Linked DNA regions of Homo sapiens: region 2 is linked to region 1. The links are contacts of gene promoters, found by promoter capture Hi-C in blood cells and fetal thymus (Javierre and others, 2016). All regions are on one chromosome and are shown on one strand. Each heading gives the region's core, a stretch centred on a gene start or on the middle of the fragment in contact. The rest is flanking DNA. Distances are from core to core; before and after follow the strand shown. Region 1 holds the start of KCNJ6 (potassium inwardly rectifying channel subfamily J member 6). Region 2 has its middle 15 kb from the start of LINC01423.

The links. Contacts are between HindIII fragments. The CHiCAGO score rates a contact against its expected background, and 5 or more counts as called.
Region 2: a contact is called between a fragment that was not itself captured here and the fragment with the promoter of KCNJ6 in region 1, in 2 of 17 cell types (neutrophils and endothelial precursors). The highest score is 5.7, in neutrophils.

Annotation. Positions count from the first base shown.
Region 1 is chr21:37,914,783-37,917,970 of GRCh38, forward strand. It overlaps KCNJ6 (potassium inwardly rectifying channel subfamily J member 6), which reads right to left and starts at 1,675. Exons shown (of 4, transcript NM_002240.5): 1 at 1,102-1,675. The HindIII fragment of the contact is 6,207 bases long and covers 367-3,188 here.
Region 2 is chr21:38,359,512-38,362,699 of GRCh38, forward strand. No RefSeq gene overlaps it. Among named protein-coding and RNA genes, the nearest start is that of LINC01423, 15 kb to the left of the region's middle. The HindIII fragment of the contact is 5,558 bases long and covers 1-3,188 here.

The sequences.
Region 1 (3,188 bases), core at 425-2,924:
CAGGGCTAGCAGGATGTGGCATTGCTCCCTGTACCGTAGGGCTCCCCGGGACCGACAGACTTTGGATAACAGCAGTTGGGAAACACTCTAAACATATAATACATCTCCAACTCCCAAACACTGGAGTTGTGGGGTTTTTTTTTTTTTCTCTTCCTTTTTTTGGGGGTTGGAGGCGGAATTCTTTGGAAAATTCTGGTATTTTGTTTCTCCACTAACCTCACCCTCTGTGGCTGTTTCTATTAAGATATATTTTCCCCCTGACAATCTCTCCATATTGCACCTAGTACAACAGATGTACCTGTGGATCCACTGGGCTTTTATTGGGTTTTGGGAATACTGATGTTATTTCACTTAAAAACTAATCCAAGCTTAATGTTTTGATGAAAATGAAAATATATCCACAGGGAAGCAAATATCCACAGCCACCCAGTCCTCTAAATGCCACACACATCTCATTTTATCTAAAGTGTTTTTTCTTCCCTTCCAATTACAAAATAATTCAGTTTACTCCTAGGAAGATCTTCCTATTCACTGTTTTTAGTCATGCTAGCACATCTTCGGTTTTAAGGATAGAGAACAGTTAGGAGTTACAGTATTCTGTTTCCCATTCTCCGCATGTTTCTCCCCAACCCTCACTTTTCCTCCCTTTCGTGTTGTCTCCTCTCCTCTCCATGCAAAGCAGAACAAGAAGACTGCCTTCCACAAAGACAATAGGCTTTTCCCAACTGTAAATGACTACATCACAAGCCGCACCTGTCAGTTAATCAGTGCATTTAAGTCTTTGCCAGCGGATGTTGAAATGATGTCTGCAATAACTGACTGGGTTTCTGCGAGCCCAGGGATGCAGACCCCTCCTTCCCCCGCCCCCCGTGCGAGTTTCAGTCGCTAATGAAAACCGTATGAAACAGATTCCCCTTCTGTTATGTAACCGGCTTCTCCCTCGCCTTTCGGCTGACTTGGGCACAATGTTTCTCATGAGAGTGGAGATGCCTGCGGCGACGGCGGAGCTGGGGAAGGGGACGCGGGGACCCGAGAGCACGGAACGCCTCGCCCAGGTGGACGCCAGCTCCTCGCCTGCGAGCAGCTCAGCGCACCGCTTACCTGGCTGCGGACGGGGTGGCTTCACTCAATCATGATCTCCTCTCTTGAAACGGAGCAAGACTGAACAATTCACTACACGACGGATGGCGAGGGAAGGAAATGCAAAAAAGAAAAGGAAAAGAAAAAAACTGGAATCAGATGGTCAAATTTCACATCAGCACCGAGAGGCTGTTAGGAGACTCCATTCTGCTCGCGGCTGCTCCGGCTCCAGGTCCGGCTTCCCGGCGTCCGCGGGTCTCCACCCCTCCGCCCGCCCAGCCTCTCCAGCCAGGTGCGGCCGTCTCCGGACTGGCTCCCTCTGGCCGAGCGCGGAGAGCAGGGCTGGGCGCTGGGGCCAAGGGAGGGGCGGAGGGGCGCGCGTTTGGGCAGGGACGGGGGAGGGAGACTGGGTGGAATGAAGTGGGGAAAGATAAGAGTGGCAGAAGAAAAAAAAAATCCCCGGTTAGGAGAAAAGTGGTGGACCACGCAGAGAGACGTCATGAAATCCGCAGATTCAATGAATGCTACTCAATTCCAGCCGACTGGCTGAGCCCCGCTGGCAGCGCACGAAGCGACGCGGCTCCGAGATAAAAGCGAGTGCAGCGCCGCGTGCTGGGGAAAAAGCCGCACAGCGCCGGCGCGGTCCGGGAGGAAGGGGCGGGGGCGAGCAGGACAGAGCCACAGACCCAGAGACGCCCACCCCGCCGCCCATGCCAGCTAGCGTGTCAGCGCGTCGAGGACCGGGCTTGGTGGGGGCGGGCTGGGCACAAACCAACGTGCATCCCCCGCCACTGGAAACGTGGGTGCTCCATGCTGGGGGAATCTTTTGGGTTTCGGTCCCCGACCCCCCAGTCCCAACCTTTCTCCCAGTGCCACTAAGTAAGTTATTCCCGGAGAAACGCCTGGAAAGCAGGAAAGAGCCGAAGCTCGGGGAGCAGTTTTGTCTGCTGGTTGTAGGGGTTCGGCTTTTAGGGTTTTGTGAGATAAGGAAAAAGAGGCTCTGGGCACTGCCTCCCACCGGGCTGAAATCCGTGAGAGGCAGCCCCGGCGCGGGAGCCGGAGCCTGCACCGCCCAGAGGGGGCGCAGCGAGCGGCCGGGACGGAGGGGAGGGGCCCTATCCCTGAGCTTTGCTTGCACCTGGTGGCGCCCCAGCCTGCTGCCCCATTCAGTCCCTTCTGTCCTGTCCACTGCAACTGGGACCTGGTCCCGGCTGCTGCATCATCACCCCATCCTTATATGATGTCTCTGGGGTCACTGGAGACAAAGAATGGCCTTTTCCAAGAATGACCCAGGCTGCCTTCAAAGTTGAATTTGTCAGGATAAGCCCCTTAGACAAAGGTCTACTCCACTCTTTGAATCTAACTTGCTTTGTGCTGTTATTCCAGGGGCCCCTCATAGTGCTCCCCTCTTGCACCCCCTCTTTTTCTTATGGTCATCAAAAACAATGGTTCTACATTTCCAAAGTCTTCCCATAAATTGCTTCTACCTATGAACAGAACTCTCTTTTATGCTGTCTTTTTCCTAGGGATGAATGGATTGACAAATTGTAAGAGTAGCGAATACCATTGGCTAGTAATTTTATAATGGCCCTTTCAATAACTGGCTATTCTTGTGCTGCTTTATGAAGTGGCTTTCCTTCCACAAGGCACAGAATCTCTACCTCAAAGAAGGTGACCTTATTTTAGAGAGAAGGCTTACGGAAACCTCTTATTTCCAAGATTATTTTATTCTACATACATACATTTTAATTACCTAGCAATTCAGGTCCCCTCAAGAATGCTGTCTGCCCTCTAAAAATGACTGTAATATGGAGAGGTGTTTGTGTCAATTTGCATCCAAAGTCATGTAAAAGTCAACCGTACACACGGCCTGTGAGCTTGTATTTGCTGTTGATTTTCCCTAAGAGGTTGTAATCTGACTTGCTATTACTTCTGAGTCATATATCCCATATACAGAAGATATGAGTATGTGTAATATCTGTAGTATGTGTAATACGTGCTCCACAATGCCTGCTGGATCTAGTGATAGTGTTACAAATAAACAAAGAACAACTGAACCAAATAATCCCTGAGAGACCAGGAATACAAATGCAAGATGCAGGATTTCG
Region 2 (3,188 bases), core at 321-2,820, 440 kb after region 1:
CAGAGGCTGGTGTGCAGTCAGGTTCTGCAGGGCATTGTTGGCCACTAGGAGGATTACAACTTTTTCTCTTACCCCAAGTGGACTTGAAACCATTGGAGGGTCTGAGGGAAGAGTGATATGGTCAGATGAAGTTTTTAAATCATGTATTTAATTATTCTAGTTGATGTGTAGAGAATGGAATTGGTGAGGGAGGAGAGAGTAGAAGTAGGGGGACAAGTTAGGACTGATGGGAGATTGAGTTGCTCCTTGGCCGTCACAGGATTCTGCATCCTCTGCCTTTACCATGGGCCTTGCCTGCCTCTCCCAGGGACAGAGTGTACCCCTCCAACCTTATTGACTGCGCATTTGGCCATGTGACTTGCTTTGCCTCGAGGGACATGAGCAAAGGCCACATCTGAGCAGAAGTTTTGAGGGCCATTGCCTGGTTGGCTCTTGCTTTTTTCCCTCTGCTCTGAGAAGAGGCATTTCCAACAGGGGGTACCCTCCAGTCCAGGTCCTAGAATGGGAAAGCCTATGGAGCAGGGCTGCCACCGTGGCACACAGCCATGACAGAGGTGGGAGTGAGAATGAGATGGCTGTCGTCGTAAGCCTTGGAGATGTGGAGAGTGCTGACCGACACAGGGGCCCTTGGGGTACCAGACTACAGAGGCACTGCTGGAACGGTGTGAGGTGAGTTGACTTTGTAATGTTTTCTGAACAGCAGAGCTACCCAAATTGGAGTTTGATGTATGGCATTAGGGAGAGTTTGATTTGGTTTAGGGATATGTTAAGTTCGAGATACTCATTAGACATCTAGGTAGAGGCTGGAGTTCCTGGAAAATGTCAACTACAGGTACAACTTGGAGTCATCGTCTCACATTTGCAAACTCAATATATGCAAATGGTATGAAAAGTCATGAGGCTATACGTGATCAACCAGAGAGAGGGTGTAGAAAGAGGTGTCTTCTTAGGACCTGGGGCACTCCAGCATGTGCAGAATGGAGATCTCAAAGGGCGAGTGAGCACTGACCTGGTGGTGGCATAGGCAGGTGCATGTCAGGGAGAGAGAACCTGTGTGCAAATACAAGGAAGGTGAGTGACATGGTTTGGCTGTGTCCCCACCAAAATCTCATCTTGAATTGTAGCTCCCATAATTCCCACATGTTGTGGGAGAGGGCAGGTGGGACATACTTGAATCATGGGGGCAGTTCTCGTGGTGGTGAATAAGTCTCGCGAGATCTACTGGTTTTATAAGGGGAAACTCCTTTTGCTTGGCTCTCGTTCTGTCTTTGCTGGCTGCCAGGTAAGATGTGCCTTTTGCCTTCCATCATAATTGTGAAGCCTCCCCAGCCACTTGGAACTGTGAATCCATTAAACCTCTTTTCCTTTTATAAATTACCCAGTCTTGGGTGTCTTTATCAGCAGCATGAAAACGGACTAATACAGTGAGAGAGCATGACACCTTCAAGAAGGGGGCAGAGGACAAACTCTCCAGCCTGCCTGGGCTCATGCCCAGCACTGTGGCCCTTCTCTATCCAGGAGCCTTCCCTGTCATTATGCACACCCTCAGTCACTGTCCTCTGCTTGGCAGCACCTCTCTGGACTCACGGTTTGTGGACCAGTTTGTTCTCATTAATCCCACGACTTAAATTTCTAGCACCCATGACACACAACCTTTCCCTCTCCTAACTCAACCCCTTTGTCACTTTCCCCCACTTCTGACGTAAAGGTAACCCATCTTCCCCAATTACAATTTCTTGTGGCCCAGCCTTGCCCCAGTACCAATTTTTAGGAGATGATTTTTGTCACCATAGGTTTTATTTTACTGTGAAAGGCATAAGATTTGTTTGGGGCTCTTCTCTCTCTATGTCCACCTTCCCTGCCCTCAAGTTCACCATGCTCCCCCAGCATGATCTCCAGTCTTCCCTAATGGCTGTTGGCTCCACTTCCCTCCAGCACTCTAAGAGTTATCAGCCTGCAGAATTATGAGCTGCTCAGGTCACCCTACAGCAAGTCACTCCTCCCACCCAGATCATTCTCCCTCAACCCATCAGAGCAATCCCTGGAAAACAGGAAGGTGGCCCTTCACTCCCTCCCCTGCCACACTCCCGCCTGGTAATTCCACCATGGCTGCTTTCAGCCTCACAGGGACCTCAAGTCCCTGGATACTTCCATCCATGCCATGATGTCTGGAACTCTCAAGAAATATTTTGGACAGTTTATCTGCCTGCTCTTGGATTTATTGAGCAGGGAAGAAACTCTGTAAGTTCACATATCTCTACTCTATCCCTGACAATTTTTTCTGGGACTGGAGAGGAACCAGAAAGGGAATGGAGTTGGGGATTGAGGAAAGAGGGGAGAAACAAGAGAAGGGAATACCTTGGGCAGCTGGGCAAGAAGAAACAAAGCCACACCATCCAGAGACAGGGATTTTGGAATAACTGCAAAGTCACAAAAGTATTGGGAAGATGACTTAATGCCCTTGAATTCAAGTCCTCAGACATACACAGATATTGTGGTGATCATCATAGCAAAGCTAGCCTTCCCAGGAAAGAGAATGCCAGAGGTTTTCCTCAGAGGAGGCATAGAATTAGCCTAGCCAGTGACCAGTTAGCCAGTGACCAGTTAAAGGACAAGTGTTGACTTTGACTTTACCCCAGTCCACTCACGCTGCCACCCCCATGCCCTACAGACCCAGCCATGTCCTTGTGTAAAGCACACCAGGAGACACCAAAGGTATCACAGAGCAGGTCCAAGTGGGACATGGGTTCTGAAACCTTAATGCAAACCAATGGCATGCTGGTATCTGATCCCACCATGACCTTCATCTCGAGAAAGGTGCCACGAGGCTGTTTCTTGAAAGGAAGTTTTGTTGACCTGGTTCCTATACTGAATATGACCACTCACTACCTGGATTTCTTTAGCCATTTGGAATAGGAGCAAGACCACAAGCGCTCATTACCTTCCTGCATGAAATTACATCTCCTGGGAGGAAGAGAGCCATAAACATCAAGGTGGGTGTCACCTGGTCTTAATTTCTTGGCTTCATTAGAAAAATCTGAGAACTTGGAATGACATACCCACAGAGAACATTTGGGTTTACATAAACTAGTATATCCTTCATGTATAAATACATAGTTTAATGTAAAAGAATTGTGGGCCCAAACCAACAGTTTTAGGGTATTTAATTAGGATATTATTCAATAAGC